Regions from separate parts of the Homo sapiens genome. Here regions 2, 3, 4, 5, 6 and 7 are each linked to region 1. The links are contacts of gene promoters, found by promoter capture Hi-C in blood cells and fetal thymus (Javierre and others, 2016). All regions are on one chromosome and are shown on one strand. The core of a region is centred on a gene start or on the middle of the fragment in contact, and the rest is flanking DNA. Distances in the headings are between cores, read along the strand shown.

The links. Contacts are between HindIII fragments. The CHiCAGO score rates a contact against its expected background, and 5 or more counts as called.
Region 2: a fragment that was not itself captured here is called in contact with the fragment with the promoter of FAM83F in region 1 in 2 of 17 cell types (naive CD4 T cells and erythroblasts); the score reaches 5.8 in naive CD4 T cells.
Region 3: a fragment that was not itself captured here is called in contact with the fragment with the promoter of FAM83F in region 1 in 9 of 17 cell types (M0 macrophages, activated CD4 T cells, M1 macrophages and 6 more); the score reaches 9.0 in M0 macrophages.
Region 4: a fragment that was not itself captured here is called in contact with the fragment with the promoter of FAM83F in region 1 in 10 of 17 cell types (M0 macrophages, endothelial precursors, activated CD4 T cells and 7 more); the score reaches 8.5 in M0 macrophages.
Region 5: a fragment that was not itself captured here is called in contact with the fragment with the promoter of FAM83F in region 1 in 10 of 17 cell types (activated CD4 T cells, M0 macrophages, M1 macrophages and 7 more); the score reaches 9.3 in activated CD4 T cells.
Region 6: a fragment that was not itself captured here is called in contact with the fragment with the promoter of FAM83F in region 1 in 13 of 17 cell types (M0 macrophages, M1 macrophages, M2 macrophages and 10 more); the score reaches 12.8 in M0 macrophages.
Region 7: a fragment that was not itself captured here is called in contact with the fragment with the promoter of FAM83F in region 1 in 2 of 17 cell types (M0 macrophages and M1 macrophages); the score reaches 6.2 in M0 macrophages.

What each region holds. Positions count from the first base shown.
Region 1 is chr22:39,993,237-39,996,499 of GRCh38, forward strand. It overlaps FAM83F (family with sequence similarity 83 member F), which reads left to right and starts at 1,718. Exons shown (of 5, transcript NM_138435.4): 1 at 1,718-2,295. The coding sequence starts at 1,807. LOC124905155 reads left to right here. Exons shown (of 2, transcript XM_047441700.1): 2 at 1,112-1,532. The coding sequence ends at 1,532. RefSeq lists an enhancer at 1,433-2,066 and a silencer at 1,641-1,760. The HindIII fragment of the contact is 8,768 bases long and covers 282-3,263 here.
Region 2 is chr22:39,500,112-39,503,374 of GRCh38, forward strand. MIEF1 (mitochondrial elongation factor 1) reads left to right here and starts at 2,179. Exons shown (of 6, transcript NM_019008.6): 1 at 2,179-2,326. It overlaps LOC105373035 (a long non-coding RNA gene), which reads right to left and starts at 2,049. Exons shown (of 3, transcript XR_938263.4): 1 at 1,923-2,049; 2 at 1,153-1,481; 3 at 381-457. RefSeq lists enhancers at 1,959-2,460, 2,318-2,367, 2,461-2,960 and a silencer at 2,468-2,577. The HindIII fragment of the contact is 2,269 bases long and covers 515-2,783 here.
Region 3 is chr22:39,572,762-39,576,024 of GRCh38, forward strand. The region is part of intron 1 of CACNA1I (calcium voltage-gated channel subunit alpha1 I); the gene reads left to right. Among named protein-coding and RNA genes, the nearest start is that of CACNA1I, 3.6 kb to the left of the region's middle. RefSeq lists an enhancer at 2,011-2,512. The HindIII fragment of the contact is 391 bases long and covers 1,433-1,823 here.
Region 4 is chr22:39,591,510-39,594,772 of GRCh38, forward strand. All of the region lies in intron 1 of CACNA1I (calcium voltage-gated channel subunit alpha1 I), which reads left to right. Among named protein-coding and RNA genes, the nearest start is that of CACNA1I, 22 kb to the left of the region's middle. RefSeq lists an enhancer at 299-1,208. The HindIII fragment of the contact is 440 bases long and covers 1,509-1,948 here.
Region 5 is chr22:39,607,705-39,610,967 of GRCh38, forward strand. All of the region lies in intron 3 of CACNA1I (calcium voltage-gated channel subunit alpha1 I), which reads left to right. Among named protein-coding and RNA genes, the nearest start is that of CACNA1I, 39 kb to the left of the region's middle. The HindIII fragment of the contact is 4,472 bases long and covers 1-3,263 here.
Region 6 is chr22:39,640,112-39,643,374 of GRCh38, forward strand. It overlaps CACNA1I (calcium voltage-gated channel subunit alpha1 I), which reads left to right. Exons shown (of 37, transcript NM_021096.4): 6 at 756-1,071; 7 at 2,686-2,778. Among named protein-coding and RNA genes, the nearest start is that of CACNA1I, 71 kb to the left of the region's middle. The HindIII fragment of the contact is 3,303 bases long and covers 1-3,117 here.
Region 7 is chr22:39,671,102-39,674,364 of GRCh38, forward strand. It overlaps CACNA1I (calcium voltage-gated channel subunit alpha1 I), which reads left to right. Exons shown (of 37, transcript NM_021096.4): 27 at 1,098-1,207; 28 at 1,848-1,981; 29 at 2,862-2,932. Among named protein-coding and RNA genes, the nearest start is that of CACNA1I, 100 kb to the left of the region's middle. The HindIII fragment of the contact is 2,897 bases long and covers 23-2,919 here.

The sequences.
Region 1 (3,263 bases), core at 468-2,967:
ACCACGGCACTGTAACCTGGTCGACAGAGTGAGACTCCGTCTCAAACAAAACAAAGTAAAACAAAACAAAATAAACAAAAAAAGCCCAAAGAAACCACTCTCATTACTCCTATCCTCTTCTGTGTTTGTCTGTCTCTCCCACTGCCCTGAGCTCCTGTGTGTCTCCAGACTATTGAGTCTGGCATCTTGTAGGGCGTCAAGTCGTAATAAACTAAGTGCTCTCCCATCTAAGGACACAATCTGTCTATATGTACTTAAGAGTGGAGCATTACCAGGAGTGAAGCTTTCCAGTTCCCAAGAGGGGTAAAGGACAAGTGAGGTGATGGACACCTTGCTGCTCACCACTCCCAATCTTTGGGCTGACACAGGATGCCAGAACTGATTATTGTAAAAAAAAAAATAATAATAACAATAATGTGCAGACATTTGAAAATCTAACTCTCATTTTTTCCAGAGCATGAAAGGAAGGCCTAGAAATGGTAAGTGACCTTTTCAAATCCCCTGGGGTGAAAACCAGGTCCCCAATAACCTGTCGTTTCACAAGAAAAGGAGAAAGGGTAAAGGCGGCCGTGATGTCAGCGAAAGACCTCCAAGACAGAAAACCTTGCAGTCCCCGTGCTCTGCCTCTTTCACGGGAGACCTGGGCAACGCACACGTTGCTAGGCCTCAATTTCTTCAACTGTAAAATGAGGGGGTTGGAGGAGCTTGAAAAGCTCCTTCCAGCTCTGAGATGCTGCGCTATAAAGTGAGAGAAATGTGAACCTTTAGTTGTTATGATCTGAAAATATTTTGAATGTGGAGAATCAAATTGTAGAGCAGTGCATGAACAACATAATATGTTAATGACTAAGACGATTGTATTTAATCCGATGGGAAACAGCAGAGCTGCTGCCACCGCTGCTGTGTGTGTGCGTGTGTGTGGTGTGCACGCACGTGCGGTTTCCTTCCTTGAGCTCAAACATACATTTTGAATCACTAATATAGTAATCATGTCTCTGGCAGCCTATCTTGCCCAAACACACACGGAGAGACACCACACACCCTACTTCAAATTAAGGTGGGGGCGGGGGGAATTCCACTGCTGCTCTTTACATCATTTCTGTTTGGATAGCTATTTTTTAAAAGAAAGTTTTACAGTGAAGGTGTTGGACTCCCAGCCCAGAAGGGCTCTGATCTCAGAACTGGGACGCAAGGGTGGGGAGCTCGAGCTCTCATTAGCATTTCGCTTTTGCACACCCCCTGCCCGCTCCTCAGCCGTCACAATCCCGTCCTGCAGCAGGCCCCCCCACCAACACCGGACCCTCGACGGGGAAGGGGTCAGCTCGGCGGCCCCAGAGGCCACTGGGCCAGAACACGTGCTCCGGACTCCACGTGCGCGGAAAATGAACTCGTACCCGCGACGCGGCCGGCGGGGGCGGATGGCAGCGAGGGCCGGACAGCGAACCTTTACCCCGCGGAGGAGTCGGGGCCGGAGCCCGCACGTGGGTCTGCGACGGCCCCGCCCCCTGGGGGCGTCCCCTCAGGGACTCTAGCCCCGGCTGGTGGGCCCTGCAGGCCCGGGCCCGACCGCGTCCGCCAGGCCGCCCGGAGGTCCCGGCGAGCCCGGCGGAGGCGGCGGCCCCTCCCCGCCCGACGGCCACGCCCGCGCGGATTGGCCGCTCCCCGACGGCGGGGCGGGGCGGGACGGGCCGGGGCAGAGCTCGCGGCCAGGTGAGGCGCCCCGCCCCTCGGCGGCTCCAGGTGCGGCTGTGGGACCTCGGACCGCGGCGGGGCCGGGGCCAGGGCCGGGGCCGGGGCCGGGGCGCCATGGCCGAGTCCCAGCTGAACTGCCTGGACGAGGCGCACGTGAACGAGAAGGTGACCGAGGCGCAGGCCGCCTTCTACTACTGCGAGCGGCGGCGGGCCGCGCTGGAGGCGCTGCTGGGCGGCGGCGAGCAGGCCTACCGCGAGCGGCTCAAGGAGGAGCAGCTGCGGGACTTCCTCTCCAGCCCGGAGCGCCAGGCCCTGCGGGCCGCCTGGAGCCCCTACGAGGACGCCGTCCCCGCCGCCAACGCCCGGGGCAAGAGCAAGGCCAAGGCCAAGGCCCCCGCGCCGGCGCCGGCTGAGTCCGGCGAGTCCCTGGCCTACTGGCCCGACCGTTCCGACACCGAGGTGCCTCCTCTGGACCTGGGCTGGACGGACACTGGTTTCTACCGCGGCGTGAGCCGGGTCACGCTCTTCACCCACCCGCCCAAGGACGAGAAGGCGCCGCACCTCAAGCAGGTGGTCAGGCAGATGATCCAACAGGCCCAGAAGGTAGGCCCCCGCCTTCGCCCCCACACCGCTGGGACCTCGGCCCCAGTCCCCTGGACCGGGCCCCACCTCCCAGGCAGGGCCCGGGGCAGGCCGCCCTGAGCACCCTCTGGAAAATGGGCCCCAACCCGCCCCTACTTCCTGGGGCTGCAGTGAGGCCTGTAGAGCGAATGGCTGGGAACGTGTTTGGCAAATTACAAGGTGCTGGACAGATGTCAGCCGTCGGTATTCCAGCGTTCAGAGGCACTGGCTCTGCTCTGTACTTCTGAAACTTCCCTGTCCAGCCTTCCTCCCCAGGGAAGACTGGGGGCCGAGGCCCTGTGGTTAAAATGCACCACTCAAAGGTCTTGATGATAACCTACGTGCTGCCCAGAACATATCCCGAGCCGCTTTCTCATGTGATCGTCAAAACAACTTCAGGGAGTGGGTGGCGGTGACCTTCCCGGTCCCACCTCTGCCATGCTGCTCCTTGGACCACCCCTCTCCTCCCATAGTCAAAGCTGAGCTGGCGCCCTCACAGTCACAGCCTCTCCTGGGCCGGGTACTAGGCCCCAGCTGCCTGGAATGAATGGGGGACGGGGTATATTGAGGACCTACTGTGTGCCTGGCCCTGTGCTGGGCGCCTTGGCACAGCAGGTCACCTGACTCGGCAGCTCAGGAAAGGGCTCCTACTTAGCATATGTGTCCTGCTTGAGAGTTGGAAGGAGGGGCTGTTTCCAGGGTGGCTGGTGAGGCCAGTCCACTGTGGAACAGGTGGAAGACTTTAATCTTTATGCCTTTGGGTGGGAGTCCTGGGCAGCTTCCAGATCAAATGTAGGATGCCCCACTACATTTGAACTTTCAATAAACAACACATAACTTTTTAGTATCAGCTTATCCCAAACATGACATGAGACGTACTGATACTGAAAAATTCTTCGTTGTGTATCTGAAATTCAAATTGAATGGGAACGTTTTGTACTTTTATTTGC
Region 2 (3,263 bases), core at 399-2,898, 490 kb before region 1:
ACAAACAAACAAACAAACAAACAAACACCCTGCAATATCAATCCAAGAGATCCTGGAATGCCTCTTGCCCTGTGAAACCTGGCAGAGCCCTGAGGTTTGGGTCAGTGCCCCCTGCCGTGGGTCTCTGGCCTACAAAGGCACCATGGGTACGTACATGTAAGTGCTAGATACCACCTCACTGCCCACACTCCATTGCCACGGAAGCATCGGGGGCAGGGAGAGGCCTTGTCAGTCTAAGTAAAGATAAGACCCTGAAGAGCAAGTGGATCTAGAGGGGCTGATCCGAAGGGGAGACCCCTCCAAATGACCTCCCTCTGTCCCTCCCTCCGAAAAATAACATTCCATAGAACAAGAAAGTCAGGAGAGATATGAAGAGGTCATCTGGTATGCCGATGGAAATGCCACCAATTATATTTATTTGGGTCACAAAATTCTTTAAAAAGCAAATTAGGGCAGCCTGAAAGAGTGGAAAGAACACACATTTCAGAGTAAGACAGACTTGGCTTCCACTGAAAGCTTCTTTCCTTCTTAGCTCAGTGTCTTAGAAACTACTATGCCTCTCTCCATCTTGGTTTTCTTTTCTTTTCTTTTTCTTTTTTTTGAGACCGAGTCTTGTTCTGTCGCCCAGGCTGGAGTACAGTAGCGTGATCTTGGCTCACTGCAACCTCTGCCTCCCAGGCTCAAGCAATTCTCCTGCCTCAGCCTCCCAAGTAACTGGGATTACAGGTACAATGCCACCACTCCCGGCTAATTTTTGTATTTTTAGTAGAGATGGGGTTTCACCATGTTGGTCAGGCTGGTCTCGAACTCCTGACCTCAAGTAGATCCGCCCACCTCAGCCTCCCAAAGTGCTGGGATTACAGACGTGAGCCACCGTGCCCAGCCCTGCAACAGACTCTTGATTGGTCTCCCTGCCTCAGCCCTGGTTCCATTCCGTTATTCTCAAGCCAGACAGATCCCATTGAAAGGGAAGTCAGATCCCAGCACTTCTTGGCTCTGAACCCTGCTGTGGTTCCTTTGCACCCGCCATCTCCCTCCCAGTTCTGGTAAGGGCCTCCCCTCTGGCCTCTTTCCCAGCTCCTGCTCACTCAGCTGCGAAAGCACTGGCTTTCTCCCTGTGGCTCCTAGACCACGCTGAGCTTAAAGGCTTACCTGGGGGGAGGCCTGAAATGCTCTTCCCTGCAATGTTCTTCTCCTGGTTCTCGTCCTTTTATCAGATAGCCTGACTATTCTGCAATTGCCCACCCCTCTACTGGTAGATATTACCTTTTAATCCTCACCACAGCCCCAAGGCTGGGTGAGGTTAGGAAACTTGGCAGAGGGCAGCTGTCCCTAAGTGGTGGAACTGGAACTAGGAGCCAGCGGTGGCCCCGGTGGCCCCGGACTCCAAAGCCCCAGGCCCTGGGCTTGGCAGAGCCAGGCATGGAGGGAGGCAGTTGGGGGAGGGAGCTTCCATAGAGACACGGCCTCCGTCCTCAAATCTAGTGAGAGACAGAGAAGCAAATGGATAAATTACAGTGCCTGGCATATGGTAGGCGCCAAGAAATACGTTTTGTTGTTGAACAGATTATGAGGCGTAAGATGTGCAGACATTTCCGTGGGGCCCAAAGAAGGCACGTGAGTGTGTTAGAGGGAGGCGAGGAAGGGGCTGGGAGAGATTTCCCAGTGAAGGGGGGCATTTGAGGTAGACTTTGAAGGAAGGGTAGGAGTTTGCCAGAAGCCATGGGGCCTGGGGAGTAGGAACAGCATGGAGGGATGAAAAGAAGGCGATCTGAGAAAATGGGTTTTGAGGAGCTCTGAATATTAGTGTTAGAATTCCCTCAGGTACCCCAGGGCCCCAGCCAGAGATCAGCATATACAGTACAGGAGGCTGGCCAGGTACCCCGACAGGCTAAGGGGTTGCCAGCAGGTGAGGGGCCTACCCGGTGCGGCAGCCTTGTTGGACAGCGAGGCTACCTCCTGCCCTCTGAACTTCTGCCAGCATCGGGACCACCCCGGTACCCACAGCCGGACCCGGACACCGGAGTCCTCTGGGGGCGGGGCGCGAGTGGCCTCTGCAGGCCAGTCCCTTGGTGAGGTCACACACGGAGGCGGGGCTCAGGATTGGGGGGCGGAATCATGCGCAGGGGGCGGGGCCCGAGAGAGAGCTTGGAGAAGACCGGAAGTCCCTCCGCCTCCACTCGCCCTCGTGCTCCCTTCAGCCCCTTCGCAGCTCCGTGCGCAAGGTCGTGTCCCGGAAGTGAAGGGGCCATGTTGATGGGTGACCCGGGGAGAGGTACCCGGCCAGAGGCGAGTCCTGCGGAGTGGTAGCGCGCACGGCCTGCGGGTGAGTGAGAGAAGGAATGAGGGCCGCCGGCGGCTGGGCGGCGGGGAGGTTGCAGCGCCTCCTCTCAGGCTGCTGCCGGCGCCTCGCATGCGGCCCGGAGTCAGGATACCAGCATGCAGCCGGGGGTCTCGCCCCATCCCGCCCTGGACTTTCCCCTGGGAGACCCCTCGGCTGCCCCGCCCCGCCCCAACCTCGGAGACCTCCAGTGCCCCGAAGCAGGCCTGCCCTGGCCTCTGGGCCTCCGCACCCCGGCCCGGCCCCCACGGTTGGTGAAGTGCAGACTGGCTGGGGCTCAGCCGCCCAGTCGCCCAGCGACCTTGTAGTTACAGCCCTCGCCGTGACAGTCGCCTTTTACAGCATCAAACACTTCTGTTGATTTTCTGCATCGGGAGGTCCTTAGGGCCGAGGGATCTCTTAAACAGTTGAGGAAAAATGGGCAGGGATGGTGGCTTGCTCAAGCTTGCGCAGGAAGTTAGCAAGGCCGGAGGCTAAGGGCTCGCGGACTTTGGGCCCAAAGTCCAATCTTTTTTTCCAGCCAAATACTTCCCCCACTTGGTGTCATTTCTTTATTTCTGAAACGGAGGTGATCATTTCTTCCACATAGGGACGTTGTGAAATTCTCTCCGTTACGCATAATTTTGAGCCCCTTGTATGTGCCAAGCGCTGTGCTGGGAAAGTTCGTGGAGCACCCAGAAGTGCTGTACACACGGTCCGGCTCCAGCAAAGGGTAACTCATTCCAGAGGCAGGCAGAGTTGGGGTCAGGAGTGCAGCCCTCCCCTTGACAGCTGTGGGCCCGCGGGCAAGTTACTTCCCTCTGGGAGATTGTTTCCTCCACTTAAAATGGGGTAATGTTGACCCCTAGGGTAGCTGACAGAATGAGTTGTTATGTGAGACATGCTTCGAACATTGCACGTTGTATATAGTGCAATATAATGC
Region 3 (3,263 bases), core at 378-2,877, 420 kb before region 1:
TAGTTTTTTTTTTTAGATGGAGTCTCGCTCTGTCACCCAGGCTGGAGTGCAGTGGCGCGATCTCGGCTCACTGCAACCTCCGCCTCCCAGGTTCAAGCAATTCTCCTGCCTCAGCCTCCCGAGTAGCTGGGACTACAGGCACCCACCGCCATGCCCTACTAATTTTTGTATTTTTAGTAGAGATGGGGTTTCACCATGTTGGTCAGGCTGGTCTCGAACTCCTGACTCGTGAACCGCCTGCCTCGGCCTCCCAAAGTGCTGGGATTACAGGTGTGAGCCACTGTGCCCAGCCTACGTGGCTAGTTTTAATACAAAGCACTGGGGAAACCTCAGGGGCTTGTGGCATGTGAACAGAGGAGTGCCAGGCCTGAGAAGGGGGCGGCCGCAGGAATTTTGGGCCTTTAGGAAGAGAAAGGCTGGTAGGAGGACCAGGGGGACAATTTCACAATGTCTCAGGGGCCTTTCCTGGGTGAGATGACAAGAGTTGATTCTGGCTCTGTCACTTGGGTGCTGTGTGACCATGAGTAAGTCACTTTGCTTCTTTGAACCTTAGGGGGTCTGGATGGGCAATACTGCTCTGGGCTGGAGGCAGGGGCATGGCTCAGAGGACTTGGCCTGGGAGTCTGACCCAGCTGCGTCTCTGATGGGCTCTGGCTGGGCTGGCTGGGGTGCTGCCCACGTGTCACGGAGAGGCCCCTAGATGGGGGTGGTCAAGTCCTGTCTGCCATGTGTGTGACCCTGGGCAGTCTCCTCTCTCTGAGCCTCAGCACCTCCACCTAAAAAGGAGACGGCAGACGAATCACCCCTTCCAGCCCTGGGAGCCCAGGGTGTTAGCCACACACGCCATGGGGGCTGCCTTGATCTCAGGCACCCTGACGCCTGACCACTGAGTGAGCCAGCCCCTGGGAACCCACCCAGTTTTCCATATTTCTGGCCTGTTGGGCAAACAGAGTCCTTGGGGCCACTGTCTCCTTGGTTTTCACCACCCCTCTCACCTCCATCCTCAGGTCATGTGGGTTGTGGCCTGGGGTTGGAGACAACAGTGGGGCTGGCCCAGGAGGGAGAGGAGTACTGGTTTCGGGAGGAGCTGGGCCTGCCTCTTGTCTGTCTTGGAGAGAGCCCTGGGTCCAAGGGGTGGGGCAGAAAGCAGCCCCCCTCCATCAGGAGGGACTTTTCAGTCCCGGGAGCTGCGCAGAGCGAGGGTTCCCCCGGCATCCCCATGGCCAGGGCTGCTGAGGCTGGACTGGGATAGAGGTGGTTCAGGTCTCGGCCTTAACTGGTGGGATACGGACTCTCTTCAGGCCAGAGATGTGGCGACTCAAAAGCACAGCAACTTTAAAGGTGTCAGCTCTGGGACACTCAGACTGAAAACTTCTGCGACAGTCTAAGGGTTCAAAGTTAAGATTTAAGGCTCAGCGACACTGAAATTCTAAGCTTCTGTCATTCAAAGGCTGCAAAATTCTGTGTTTCAAAGAGTGTGTGAGCCTAAGACTTGGTGGCTGTGATGCTGTGTGCCTACGAGTTGGAGGATTCTGGACCCGGTGGCTGCAGCCGCTGCTGGCCTGAGAGTTCATAGCTGAATTGGGTCAGGTGGGAGAGGGGCCAAGGAGGGTTCCACAAACAGAGACCCAGGAGACGTGGCTGTCCATAGGGCTGTCCCCTGGAGCAGAGACTCAGTCGTGGGGAGCTCAGGGTGGGCTTTAGGGGCTTGGGATGGGGTGCGTGTGTGGGTGGGGCAGGGGCTGAAGCCTCTAGGATTCTTTCCTGGCTGGAAACTTCACTCCCTCTTGTGCTCTGTGGGAGGGGGCCTGGGGCAGTGCTTAAGCTTGTACTCCTCAATGGGACACCATTGGCATTTGGGGGTTGACGGTGCTTTGTAGTCTTGTCTGTCTTGCATATTCAATAGTAGTAGTGTCCTTCAATCATTGTGACTACCATAAATGACCTTTCACATGTCTAGACCCTGCAAAGGGCGACTCTTTCCCCCACTGAGAACCCAAAGGGGTGGTGGGTGCGTAGCATCAGAGTCAGGCTGGTGGGAGCTGCTGTCATGATGGCCAGGCCCGGGAAGGGGAGGGCAGCATGGGAGGGTCCCCCAGACAGCCTGTCCTGAGCTCATGTCCTGGTGCTGAGGGGCCCTGGCCCAGAGCCAGCTGCTCTTTGAAGCCTGGTGCTCCCTGACTCAGCTCCTCTTCCAGCCCGGAGCTAGGCCCTGAGTCACCGCCTGACTCACTGGAGAGCCAGCAGGCTGCTGGGACCCTTGTGGAGCCTGCAAGGTGGGGTGGGAAAGGGCCACTCGCCCATATGTCAGCACCGCTCCCTGCCTGGCCTGGGCCGTGGGCATGGGCTGTCAGCTGCAGATGCAGCTGCAAGGCCTCTGGATTCGAAATGTCAGGGGATACATTGTGCTACTTGAATCACGGGGAGGTGGCGTGTGGCACCGTGGAAAGCGCTGGGCACCTGAATCACACAGACCCAGAGGCTGGTTCTGTCTCTTGCTGTGTGACCATGGGTCAGTTTCTTAACATTTCCGAGCCCCAGTTTCCCCACCTGTCAAACACGGGTGGTAATACCCACTCCACAGGGTTGATTGCACTGAGGACAGAGCAGGACAGTGTGACAGTGGAGTTTGGGAACTGGAAAAGCCACCATATGTGTGGTTATCACTCTGATTACCTGTGCCTGAACCCTGAACAGGGCCCTCACGTACTGCTGAGTCAACACTCTGCTTGCTGTAGATTCAATTAGACATTGGGGACAGGTCTTTAGATAGAACATAACACCTTCAGAGGACATTGTTTCCAAGGAACATCAGACCCAATCTCTGTTAACTTAGGTGGATTTGAGCTTGTTCTGCTGCTAGTGGCCATGCCCCCCATCAGTGCAGACATTGCTAATCGAGCCTGCCGGCATTCTCCAGCAGGGCACCTCTGGCAGCTATGGGGAGCCATCAGCCTGAAACCTATTATTATTTTCCACCCTAGATTAGACTTTCAGAGCCTTTCTTTCTTTTCTTTCATTTTTTTTTTTTGAGACAGAGTCTCTCTCTGTCACCCAGGATGGAGTGCAATGGCATGATCTTGGCTCACTGCAACCTCTGCCTCCTGGGTTCAAGTGATTCTCCCACCTCAGCCTCCTGAGTAGCTGGAATTACAGAAGCGCACCACCATGCCGGGCTAATTTTGAATTTTTAATAAGAGATGGGGTTTCACCATTTCAGCCAGGCTGGTCTTGAACTCCTGACCTCAAGTGATCTGCCCGCC
Region 4 (3,263 bases), core at 479-2,978, 400 kb before region 1:
CAGGACAGATATCTATCACAGGGGCTGTACTAGCATCTCTTCTTTTCTTTTCTTTTTTTTTGTTTTTGAGATGGAGTTTCACTCTGTCACCCACGCTGGAGTGCAGTGGTGCAATCTCAGCTCACTGAAACCTCCACCTCCCGGGTTCAAGCGATTCTTCCACCTCAACCTCCCAAGTAGCTGGGATTACAGGCGCCTGCCACCATGCCCAGCTAATTTTTTGTATTTTTAGTAGAGACAGGGTTTCACTGTGTTGGCCGGGCTGGTCTTGAACTCCTGACCTCAGGTGATCTGCCCGCCTTGGCCCCCCAAAGTGCTGGGATCACAGGCATAAGCCACCGCGCTTGGCCATGCATGCTGTTTGATTTGGAGGCTCCTTGGCAAACAGACACTCAGGGGCACTGAAGAAGTGTTCGCGATTGTCACCATTATTACCACCGGCAGGCTGGCGCCTGGCACACAACAGGCACACAATATAAGCACATTCATTCCCCCTGCTCAGCTCTGAGACCCCAGTTCTGAAGACTTTGAGAGGTGTGGTGCGGGGACGTGGGTAGGAAGTGGGGCTGAGGGCCCAGGCTGTGCTGAGGCGCTGGGGGGCTCTGCAGCAGCACCCAAAGACCCTGAGTGATTTTCTCCCCGAGGCCTGTGTGCTTGGGACGGCTTTGCCTGCCAAGGAAACTCGATTGATTGCATCACCATTGATCTGTTTCTCCATCTGTGTTCCTCAAAGGCGCTCAGGGCTGCCCGTCAGGGATCTAACCAGCTTAAAGTGATGGTACTGTGGCTGTGCCGAGTGTGTGGGGAAACGCGGAGGGTTTCCGTGTGAGTTTGAAAAATCGACTGTGGCTTGGGGACCCCCGTGGGTGGTGAGTCTGTTGTCTAAGTGTCACTTCAGCTCTGGGCTTGCTGTGGAGCTGGGACAGATTTCTGCCCCTGTTTTCCATCAGTGCAATGAGGGATTGGAGCCGTTGCTCTCTAACGACGCTGGCAGGGCTGCTCTGTGGCAAAGGTCACCCCGACTGCAGTGAGGGCCTGAGGGGTGAAGTAGGCGAGGCAGCTGGGCCTTGGATGCCCGTCGCAGGGCTTCAAGCCTCGCTGTGAGAGGCAGTTGGGAGCCATTGAAGACGTCCTGCCGTCGTGGCACTAGCACTCCAGCCCTGCCCCCTCTGTCACCCAGAAATCCTGTGCTCCCCCTTGGGTCTCCAGCTTCCCTCAGGTTGTCCCCGAACCTCACGGCTTCGCTTGCCTGTGTTCTCAGAGAGTTCCTCAACACTTGTGACTCATGGTGGAAGCATGAGGCGTCAGGCCAGGCTGCAGAGTGGCTCAAGCCGGAGACCTTGACTCCCCCCGCCACCCTCCTACCCCACACTGCACTGTCTGGTTTAACTTCAAGGAGGGCTGGTGCTTTTGATCCCTGAGCCAGTGGGGAGTGTGTCAGGAACCGCGGGCAGTGATGCCAGTTCTGGCCTGACTTCTAAGCCTCCTGGGCTCTTGGAAGGGGCCCAAGCTTTGCCATCTGGGATTTCCCCGGGCACCTCTGGGCAAGGGCTGAGACCATCCATTGCTGAATTTCTGAAGCTGAGCAGCCCAGGGATGAAAGCCACTCCATCTGCCTCCTGCGGGGACCCAGTGCAGTGGGCGAGTTAGATGGGCCACAGAGGCAGTGCTGTGCAGCGGCCACCAGCACTGCTGTGAATCAGACAATCTGGGCTGCTCGGGGACTGGGTGACCTTGTGTGAGTGGTGTCAGCTCTCCAGGCTTGTTCCTTTTCCATCCCCAGGGGATTGTGAGAGCTGAGGTCATGTCCCTAGGGTGTCTGGTACACAGTCGTCAGAGGTACTGCCAAATTCATCACTGTGGTACGTGCTAGCCAGGGCAGGTGGGAGTGCTTCTGGAGAGGAGGCTGAGCCACCACCTTGTGAGGGGCAAGAGGCACATCCGGGGAAGCTTCAAGAAGAGGTGACCTGCGAACTGGGCTCTGAAACAGTCTGCCTGCTGGAGAGGTGGAGGAAAGGGAAAGTGTAGGCAGAAGGCGTGTTTGGAGAAAGCGAGTGCTGAGGCCAGTGAGTGATAAGACTGCAAGGATTCACTGAGGCGAGAGTCTACCTTGCGTACCAGGCTTGGGAGGGTGATGGGGAGCCATGGGAGGTTCTTGAGCAGGAGAGAGGCATCTGGAGAGTGTGTTTCAGGCAGATTAGCCTGGCAGTGGCAAAACAGCTTGGAGGCAGGAAAAGCCTCCAGCCTGAGGTTTTGTGTCTCAGCTCTGCTCTTTTCCAGCTGGTGACCTTGGGCCAATCTGTTTCCCTTTTGTGTCTTGGTTTCCTTATTTGTAAATGGGGCTTATAAAAGAGCTGTGAGGATTAAATGAGATAACATTTGGAAAATGTTCAAGTTGTGTTGGGCACACAGCAAGTGCCTGGTTATCGTGTGGGGCAGATTGGAGGGGCAGAGACCAGAGCTGGGGGATACCGAGGATGCTGGGTCAGGGTCCTGGGGAGACACACTGAAGATGGGCTGAGAGGCCTCAGGGGAGGGAGGAGAGCCATGGGCAGAGACAGGCCGTACTTCACAGAGGAGAGCGCTGGCCTTGGAGTCCAGCAGGCCTGGTGTGAATCTCTGTGCCAGTAATTCCTAGCTGTGAAACCCAGGAGAGGCCCCTGATTTCCCCATGTCTCAGCCTTCCTTATCTGTAAAATGGGCCTGCTGACCTCCACTGCTCAGGGCCTTGTTGAGGAGGCAGCAGGGGCACCGGGCTCCTGGGAGACGCCACTAAGTGCACTTTGAGCCTGAAACTGGCAGGAGGGGCAGAGGGAGCAGAGGATGGGGCTGGAAGGAGAGAGCGCACGACAGGAAGAGGGGAAAGGCGAGGGGGATGGGGGATGTTCTTTGGTAATTAGAATGTTCGAACTTCAAAAAAGTTAATTAATGATGAAGCTGCTGCTGGAGCCAGGCTCAGGCTCGAAGGGGGCCCTGGCAGCGACTGAAATTAATTACAGGCTATGGCGGGAGAGTGGCAGTGGGGTGAGGGGACGGGAAGGAGCAGGGCTGGGGCCAGGAGGAGCTGAGAAGAGGCCACGAGTAGGCAGCATCCCAAAGTGGGCAGGGCTGGGGATGGGAGGGAGGCTGTTGCCATGGAAACCAGGTCACCTCTCCCACTCCTCTCTGGGTGGGGTCCTGCTGAGGGTTTGGCTGGTGTGGCTACATCCCAGCTAAGGGCAAGGGCTTTGAAATGGAGGGGTGAGGGGTTTGCTTGGAGACAC
Region 5 (3,263 bases), core at 497-2,996, 390 kb before region 1:
TTGGCCAGGCACTGTGGCTCATGCCTATAATCCCAGCACTTTGGGAGGCTGAGGCAGGCAGATCACCTGAGGTCAGGAGTTTGAGACCAGCCTGGCAAACATGATGAAACCCCATGTCTACTAAAAATACAAAAATTAGTCCGGGTGCGGTGGCTCACACCTGTAATCCCAGCACTTTGGGGTGCCAAGGCGGGGGGGGGTCACCTGAGGTCAGGAGTTCGAGACCAACATGGTGAAACCCTGTCTCTACTAAAAATACAAAAAAATTAGCTGGGCGTGGTGGCAGACACCTGTAATCCCAGCGGGAGGCTGAGGCAGGAGAACTGCTTGAACCCAGGAGGCGGAGGTTGCCATGAGCCCAGATCGTGCCACTGCACTCCAGCCTGGGCAATGAGAGTGAAACTCCATCTCCAAAAAAAAAAAAAAAAAAAAAATACAAATACAAATTCAAAAATTAGCCAGGCGCAGTGGCGCACACCTGTAGTCCCAGCTGTTTGGGCGGCAGGAGAATAGCTTGAACCGGGTGGTAGAGAGGTTGCAGTGAGCCAAGATTGCACTCCTACACTCCAGCCTGGGAGACAGAGTCTCAGTCTCTAAAAAAGAACTTCTGTGATCACCCAGTCCAGTGGTGTGTGTCAATTGTTCCAGCTACTCAGGAGGCTGAGGTGGGAGGATATCTTGAGCCCAGGAGTTAGAGATCGGTCTGGGCAACATAGCGAGAGCCCATTTCTTTAAAACATTTTTTAAAAAAGAATTTCTATGATCATTAATAGTATTAATAAAGTAATATTAGTAACTTAGCACCTTGGCTAGAGGGTGAGAAGGAGAGGCTGGGTTAGGACTTGTATCCTGGGCTGAGTGCAGTGGCTCTTGCCTGTAATCCCAGCACTTTGGCAGGCCGAGGTGGATGGATCGCTTGAGCTCAGAAGGTTGAGACCAGCCTGGGCAACATGGTGAAACCACAGCTAAAAAAAAAAAAAATGTGTGTGTCTGTAGTCCCAGCTACTCAGGAGGCTGAGGTGGGAGGATTGCTTGAGGCTGGGAGGCGGAGGTTGCAGTGAGCCAAGATTGCGCCACTACACTGCAGCCTGGGTGACAGAGTGAGATCCTGTCTCAAAAAAAAAGAAAAGAGAAAAAAAAAATTTATTGTACCCTGGAAACATGGTCTCTGGAATGCTGGGAACAGCTTCTCCACCCTGACTCTTACAGACTCTTGGGAAACAAAAAGCCACTAAGAATTGTTCCTCAGCTCTGGGCTAGGGCTTTCTAGAAAGATCAGGCAGGTATGTCCCTGCTGAGGTTGCTGGCTGAGAGTTCCTTTTTTCCAAAGTGCCCCATCAGTGGGACTTCAAAAGGCAAAGGTAATTTAATTCTCTGATGCCTCCAGGAGTGTGATAAGAATAAGGACGCTGACTGCTGAGTGCTCACACCGTGCATCATCCTGTTGAATGGTCAGACAAGCCCTGTGAGGGCTGTGGTCAGTTCCACCTCACAGATGAGGCAGTGACAGGAGTAACTTGCCTGAGGTCACAGGCTGGTAAGGGGCAGAGTCAGGAGTTGAACCCAGGGAGCTTAGCTCCACCAGCTCCACCAGGATTGGGTCCTGGTTCAGTGTGACTGCTGGGTGTATTTGTCAGGGATGCATTTGGCTGCAAGTAATAGAAAACCCAACCAACTGTGGCTCAGGCAAATCCTGAATCCGTGTTTTTCTGACATAACACAAAGTTCTGGTTACTGGTGATAGTTCTGCAGTGTGGGGGCTGACATCCTTGTGATTTTCCAGGCCTTTCTTTCATGGTCACAAGGCAGCCGGTGAAGCCGTGGGTGTCATGTCTGAATTAAAGACAGGAAAGAAGGGTGAAGAGTGACAGGGCATGTCCACTTGGATCAGGAAAATGAGATTTTCTTTCCGGGATCCTTCCCTTCCCTAGTGCATTTGGCCAGAACTGGGTCTGATGGACACCTGAGTGGCAGCAAGGCTAGGAAAGCAGAAAGCATCATTGAACTTGGCTAAATCAAACAAGAGTTGTTCCTTGGGTTCAGGCAAGATCACAAGAGAGAGAACGCCCATCATGGGGGCACTCCGAGTCAGCCACATTCCTCTCCTTGAGCCTCAGTTTCTTCACCCACCCTCTGCCAAAGCCGTGGCTCTACCATGTCTCCAAGCCCTGGTTAGAGCTTCTGGAGCTCTGCCTGTGCTGACTGGGCAGGGGCAGGGCTCTGTTGAGATCTCTAACGTCAATACCAACCTAGGCAAGCTCCACAGAGCCCAGTGCCTGTCAGCAGATCCTGCTGTGGTCATGGGAATCAGAAGGCAATCACTTGGATGCCCAGAAGCCTTTGGAGCTGGCCTTCCTGCACAACTCTGTGTGCACTATTGGTGGGTAAGGGAAGCCCTCCGAATGTCTTGAAGCCCAGGGGACCCTTCTGGTTTTGTCATTGACTTTACACTCTGATCTATCCTGGACTTACAGGTCTGTCTGCCCTGCGGCTGTGGATGCTCAGATGCACTGGGTGCTCTGAGGGCAGGACCAAGGCTAGTCATCATCCTGAAGTCCCCAGAGCCGTGGAGGCATCATTACATGTTTGTTTCCTGTCTGTTGCACCCAGGCACGAAAGAGCTGGGGAGAGGATATCTGGAGCCATTTTCTTTAAGCTGAGCTGCCGTTGGGTGGGCGTGGACTGGGGAAGGTTCCAATAGGAACCTTAGTGTGTTTTTCTCATTTGCATATGGGATGGGATGGGAGAGAGGGTGATGGTCACTGTGGAGGCTCGTTTCCATGGAAACAGGATGGTAGCTGCCATGTGTGATGTTGGGGGAAGTCACCAGAGATTCTCTGGCCACAGGCTGAGGTGCCTGACACGGGTCAATCATGAATCGGGAAGGACTATCTCTGTTACGTGGGACAGAAACCCTGAATCTGGTTTAAGGGAGTCAACTGTTTCCTCTACTGAAAAGCCAAGAGGTCTCCAGCTTCAGGGCCCGCTTGCTCTAGAATCCTGAAAGATGTCTCTAGATGGTGTGTGCTCCTATCCCACAGCTCTGCTAGTCTGTGCTGACTTCCCTCCCTGGAGCTTTCACGGTGGCAGGGTGGTGGCAGGCAGCTCGGGGCTCAGTGCCGACTCCCTCCAGTTCAGACACACCTTTCCTTTCCTAGCAGTTCCAATCAGTCCTGGGAACTGAGCCTCTTTGGCCTGGATTGGCTGGTGTGGGGCATGTGCTCATCCCTAAGCCAATCACTGAGGGTAGGGTGGGCAGAGCT
Region 6 (3,263 bases), core at 216-2,715, 350 kb before region 1:
GGCTCGGTGGCTCACACCTGTAATCCCAGCACTTTGGGAGGCTGAGGTGGGTGGATCACCTGAGGTCAGGAGTTTGAGAACAGGCTGACCAATATGGTGAAACCCCATCTCTACTAAAAAAACAAAAATTAGCTAGGTATGGTGGTGTGCACCTATAGTCCTATCTACTCAGGAGGCTGAGACAGGAGAATTGCTTGAACCCAGGAGGTGGAGGTTGCAGTGAGCCAAGATCTCACCACTGCACTCCAGCCTGGGTGACAGAGTGAGACTCGGTCTAAAAAAGAAAAAAAAGAAACGAAGTCTAGAGAGAGGAAGTGATCAGCCCAGGATCACTTACATGGAAGTGGGTGGAGCAGATGGAGGATCTACCTGTCATCTGCTAGATCGGTAAAAGCCAGTGCTTGTTTACTGACCACCTGCTCTGTCTGTGCGAACCCAACAGTGTGTGTGGCCTGGGGATGCTGAGATGTCCAGACTCCCGAGGGAGTTGAGGGCATCTCCCCCAGGAGCCATAATGAAGGTGTGTGCAAGGCACAGTGAGGCTCCCCAGAGAAGGGGACCACAGTGGGCCAGTGGGGGTTTTCATGGCCATAACAGAGGTGGGGAAGGGTGACCAAGGCAGGGGAACAGCATGTGCCAAGGCCTGGAGGCAGTGACAAGGCCATCCTGCTATGCTGCATGGCCTCTCCCTTCCTGATCCTCCTGACAGTGACCCCTCCCCTTTCCCTCTTTTACCCACCCTCGCCTGTGGACAGACAAGGGGATGTGGCCTTGCCCCCATACTACCAGCCGGAGGAGGATGATGAGATGCCCTTCATCTGCTCCCTGTCGGGCGACAATGGGATAATGGGCTGCCATGAGATCCCCCCGCTCAAGGAGCAGGGCCGTGAGTGCTGCCTGTCCAAGGACGACGTCTACGACTTTGGGGCGGGGCGCCAGGACCTCAATGCCAGCGGCCTCTGTGTCAACTGGAACCGTTACTACAATGTGTGCCGCACGGGCAGCGCCAACCCCCACAAGGGTGCCATCAACTTTGACAACATCGGTTATGCTTGGATTGTCATCTTCCAGGTGAGGCCATTCAGGCCTGGGGCCAGCCTGGTCCTAGAGTGGGCAGCTCTGCCTGGTGGGCAGGGCTCTGTGCTAGGCATTTGCCAGCCCTCATCTCACTGAAACCTGCCCAGCTTGCTGGCAGAATAGGCATTATCATGCCCATTTTATAGACAGAGAACCCAAGGTTCAAAGAAAGGAAGCAAGCTAATTGACCACAGATGATGTGACTATTAAATGGCAAAAATAGGCTCTTAACCCAGCTCTGGGTGTCCCCAAAGCCTGAGCTCTTTGCAGAGCCTCAGGCTGCCTTGGGCCCTATGGATCCCAGCAGGGAGGGCTGTTCAGAGAGGAGAGGCAGGATTCAAGCTCTGTTGGAGGGATTGGCTGACCAAGGCCAGGATCATGGGGTAGGAGGACATTCCTGGTGGGGACAGCCTGAGCAAAATTCTGGTACAGGGAGTGCCAAGTAGCTCATCTGGAGTCAGAAAGAAATGTGTCTCGCCTTGTCACCCAGTGCACATAATGCACACAGGTTCACAAAGCAGCACTAGCCTCATGGCGTGCAAAGGGCTTGTTGCGTGGCCCCACTGCACTGACTGTCAGCCTATACTCTGCAGAGGATGGGCTGGGATATGTGTAGGGAAAGAACTAGGGCAGTGGACCTTGGCCAGTATTGCTTGGCCTCTCTGTGCCTCAGTTTTCCCATCTTTAAAATGGGGTAATAACAGCCCCCCTCACCTTGGGTCATTGTTAAGAATAAAGCAGATGGCACGCTCAGGGCAGCCAGCCCTGTGTACAGAGTGCTGGGTAGAGGTTACCTTTCTGCTGTCCTCAGAAAGAAGGGGCAGGAGCAGACAGAGGGGGAGCTGAGAAGTCCCTGAGGGGGCAGCGGGAGGGCTGAACTCTGCTGCCTCCGCTGCCCTGCGCTGCCTCTGCTGCCCTGTGCTGCCCTCTGCTGCCCTGGGCACTTTGCCCTGGGGAGCATCAGGGTCATTTGTTCAGAGATGCAGGGTGTGAGGTGACGGCAACAGCTGTGTTTTGGAACCCTCTGCCCAGGAGGGTGGGTGGCCGCTCAGGGGGTCCCACTCTGTGCATTTGCCAGAAGCCAACAAGGACCCAGGGTTTGTCTTTCTCAAGGCTGCTCCATCCCCCAGTCTGGGAAGGAGTTGGGGTGGGGTGGGGGGTGACAAAGTCACACCAGCCTCATTGCGGTGTGCACTCCCAGGCTCCACCGAGCTGCACCCCAGCTCTGCCAGGTGGGCTCCCCACATACAGAAGAAGCGGCTGAGACTCAAAGAGGGTGGGTGGCCCAGCTGATAAGCTGGAGCAGGGGCAGGCTCCCTGCTTTTCCAGCCCTCCCGCTGGTGTGGTAGACTGGAGGGACCAAGGTTCAAGTCCTGGCACGTCCCCTTCCTGGCTGTGTGACAGTGGGCAAGTGCTTTCCCCTCACTGAGCCTCAGTTTCCTCACCTGTATAATGTGATGTGCCTTGTCCAGCCCCTGTGAGACAGACTCGAGGCAGCATGTGTGATGCGTTCTGGCACACAGTGGGGCCTCTGTCTGGGGCACTGCCTGGGCTACGGGCTTTCTGATGGGCCAGTCCTCTCGGCTCTCTCTCCTCTGCGCGCTGCAGGTGATCACTCTGGAAGGCTGGGTGGAGATCATGTACTACGTGATGGATGCTCACTCCTTCTACAACTTCATCTACTTCATCCTGCTTATCATAGTAAGTGTCAGGGAGCCTGGGCTCCTAGGTGTGCTCAGAACCCATGGACCAGGGGACCTGAGGAGGGAGGGTCTTTGGGAGTCCCTAGGGAGCCCCTCAGAGCCAGGACAGCCGGGATGAGGGAGCAGGAAGGGCTGTTTCTCAGCACCACCGGGCAGCAGATGATTGAAGGGGCTCATCAGGGGCGGCTGTCGGGAGCATCCAACACCTTCGATTGCTGTCATTTCTCATGTGTGGGCACTTACTTCCCCACCGATGCTCTGCTCCTGTTTCTCTGCCTCGTGTCTCTGGGCTACATTCTTTGCATGACCTGAGTCCAAGGAGCAGCCTCAGACTGGAAGCTTCAGAAGGGCTCCAGCTCATTCCTGTTTTCCTGGACGGAGAAGACAAGATGCCCGGAGACTGAGCAGGGTTTGGAGGGAGGTCGCCTGATAGTGACCCGGTGGAGCTCCCTGGAATTCTCAGAGGGACTCCCATCTCTTGGG
Region 7 (3,263 bases), core at 221-2,720, 320 kb before region 1:
CAGTGGGAGGAGGTGCCGGACAAGCTTGCCCTCAGGAAGCTCAGAGTCTGGAAGGGAACGGTCAGAGGGAAGGTGGGTCAGGGAGGCAGGATTTGGACCGTGGCTTGCACATGGGTGGCAATGACTGTGATGTGTTAAATATTGACTCTTTGCAAGGCACGCTACATATATGAACTCTTTAATCCTCGCAGCAATCCTAAGGCTGGCAGGGGGAATCCTTTGTCTGGATTTTATAGGTGAAGAGCCTGAGGCTTAGAGAGGTTAAATATGCTGCCCAAATTACTCAGCCATAGGTAGTGGAACCAGGTCTGGAACTTAGATTTGCATTCAAAGCCTACCATGTAGCCTCCTTTACTACCTGGGTATATGGAGACGAGGCAAAAGGGTGGAAGGACCATTTCAGGCAAACACTGGGGGTGGGTGAGGATGACCATTTCCCAGCTTGTTGCAGACCAGGTATGTGAGGGGCATGTGAGGAGCAAGTGCATTCTAAAAACCCTGATGGAGTTGGAGGGGAAGAAGAGGGAAGCAGAGCCGCCAGGTGTGAAATTAATACCTTATTTCAAATGATGGGAGAGGAATATTATGAATGCAGAAAAAAGAAAGATAACCATTGGCAGAATGAAACAATAATTATACAACTTCCAAATTAACAGGAAAAATGGAATATTAATAGCTTACATTTACCAAGTATTATTCTGTTTCCAGCACCGAACTATCAGCTCATTTAATTTGCATACCAGCTTTCTAAGATGAAATGACTTACTCAAGATCATAAGGTGAATATGGAGTGAGCACTAAGCCAGGATTCAAATGTAGGCAGTCTGGCTCAGTAGCTCTTCATTAATACCCTATATTGCCTCCAAAGGTACCAACTCGACCAGATACACATAAATAAGAAAAAGGGAACAGAAGGAATAGCAGCATAAAATAAATAGTACACACTAAGATGGAAAGAATAAAAGCAGCATATAAATAATTACACTAAAAGTAAATGGACTAAATTCTCTCCTTAAAAGGCAGAGACTTTCTGAGTGGAGGAAGGTTGTGGAGCAGGTCATGTGCCCTGGATCATGCTTCTCTTTGTTCCTCCATAGTCCCTGGAGACAGCCCTCAAGTACTGCAACTATATGTTCACCACTGTCTTTGTGCTGGAGGCTGTGCTGAAGCTGGTGGCATTTGGTCTGAGGCGCTTCTTCAAGGACCGGTGAGTGGCCAGGCTGGATTAGGGCAGTAATAGGGTAGACTGCAGGATGAAGAAGCAGTCCTGACCCTTAGGGAAGTCTGGAGCAGCCTGAAGAGGGGAACCAGTAAGCATCTAGGCACGGATGGACAGGCACCCCAGCTGCTGCTTATAGCTCTGAACAGGAAATAATTATGGTATCATCTGATGGGCGTAGGGCATTCTACCTGGCCCTTCTTGGCTCATCTTTGGTACGTTGTCTCTACCCTATGGGCAGAGCAGGGTCTGCCTCATGCTAATACTCCTTTTTGAAGGGAATAGTGAGGCTCAAAGAAGTTGATGGACTAGCCTAAGGCCAGACAGAGAGAGCAGCCAGCTCAAGATTAGACTTGGAAGTCATAGTCCATGCCTCCTCTCCTGCAGGAGGCCAGAGATATTTATTTAGCCTGATCAGCCCCTTGCTTGACGGAGTGATGGCTATGGGGAGCAGAGAGGGGCCTGGACCCAGTGGCGTTAGGAGGGGCTAGTAAGGGAGGGCAGCCACACAGCCTAATGGGCCACAATAGAAGGGTCAGGACCTGGGAGGCTCCCCCCACTAAGGTGTGTCTGAACCAGAGGGATCCTCCTCATGCCCACTCCTGCCCTCCCATGCACGGCTGAGCAGATGGAACCAGCTGGACCTGGCCATTGTGCTACTGTCAGTCATGGGCATCACCCTGGAGGAGATCGAGATCAATGCGGCCCTGCCCATCAATCCCACCATCATCCGCATCATGAGGGTTCTGCGCATTGCCCGAGGTGAGGGGCAAGGGGTGGGACAGGGAACGGGGACAAGCAGGGGCGGGATGAGACTCCTCATTGCCTGATGAGAACACACAGGAGTGGGGTGGGGAGGGGTGGGGGCAGGAGTTTGCAGGCATGGTGGGCTCCTTGCTGAACAGGGGTGAGAAGGAGCTGGGAGGCACACAGCCAACACACACGCATGCACCCTCTGTGTGCACACACCTCCCCCAACACACAGGCAACTTTGCATAGCACACATGGACACACACTCCCACTTCCTTATGACGCCATGACCCATGGGGTCCAGTCTCAGAGTGTGATGCAAGGAACCCAGTCCAACTGGGAAGATGTGAAACACCTCCAGTTCCTCGCTGGCATTTCTCAAACACAGTGACTGGGACGCACGGTCTTCAGAGATCCTTCTCCCTCCCCTCAAGGTAGTTCGTACACTTCTTTTAAAAGCCTCCTGCCTCAGGGCGAGCCCAGGTGCCTCTTGCTCTTCTGCCTGCCAGAAACTCAGCGAGTGATGCCAGAGTCCTCTTTATCGAGAGGGGAAGAGAAGAGATGTGGCCACTCACGCTGGTCCTTTGTGCCCGTGACAGTTCATGGCCCACCCATTCACACACTTCATAGACCTCAGTTTCCATGAGTATGCCCCGTCCTCGGGGGCTTTTCTACAGTGACACCCACGCCTTGTGTCCACATGTTTTTGTGCATGCCCCACTCACCCTGTGGCTGCACCCACATTCTTGTAATGTGGTATCTGAGAGCCAGACTCTGCTTGCACGTGCCTTCATGTTCTCTTCTCCCAAGTTTACACACGTGCACACATGCGTGCACACACACGTCCCCACCGGCCTGGGGCTGAGTGGGCAGGGCTGGGTCTCGCCCGCAGTGCTGAAGCTGTTGAAGATGGCCACAGGAATGCGGGCCCTGCTGGACACGGTGGTGCAAGCTTTGCCCCAGGTAAGAGCCACTCTTTCTGGCAGCCCTCCTAGGGGTCATTGGTGTCAGGCTGGGCCCTGGGGCATGAAGGCCCTGATTTCCCTTCTCCTCACATCTGCCAGAGCCAGGGCAGATGCTGTCTCTGGGGATGCATTTTGAGCCAGGGGCTGAGAGGCAGGAAGGGTCCCTTTATGCCTCTTTCTTCCAGTTTCACCATGTGGTTGCCAGTGCCACTCTGTGTCCAGCCCTGTGCACGCACTGAGGGTCCACATTGTGCCCTTGGTTGCCCCCAGGCTGGTGGAGGGAGATGGATACTTCAGGGAGATGTGGGGAGGGACCTCCAGCATGCTCC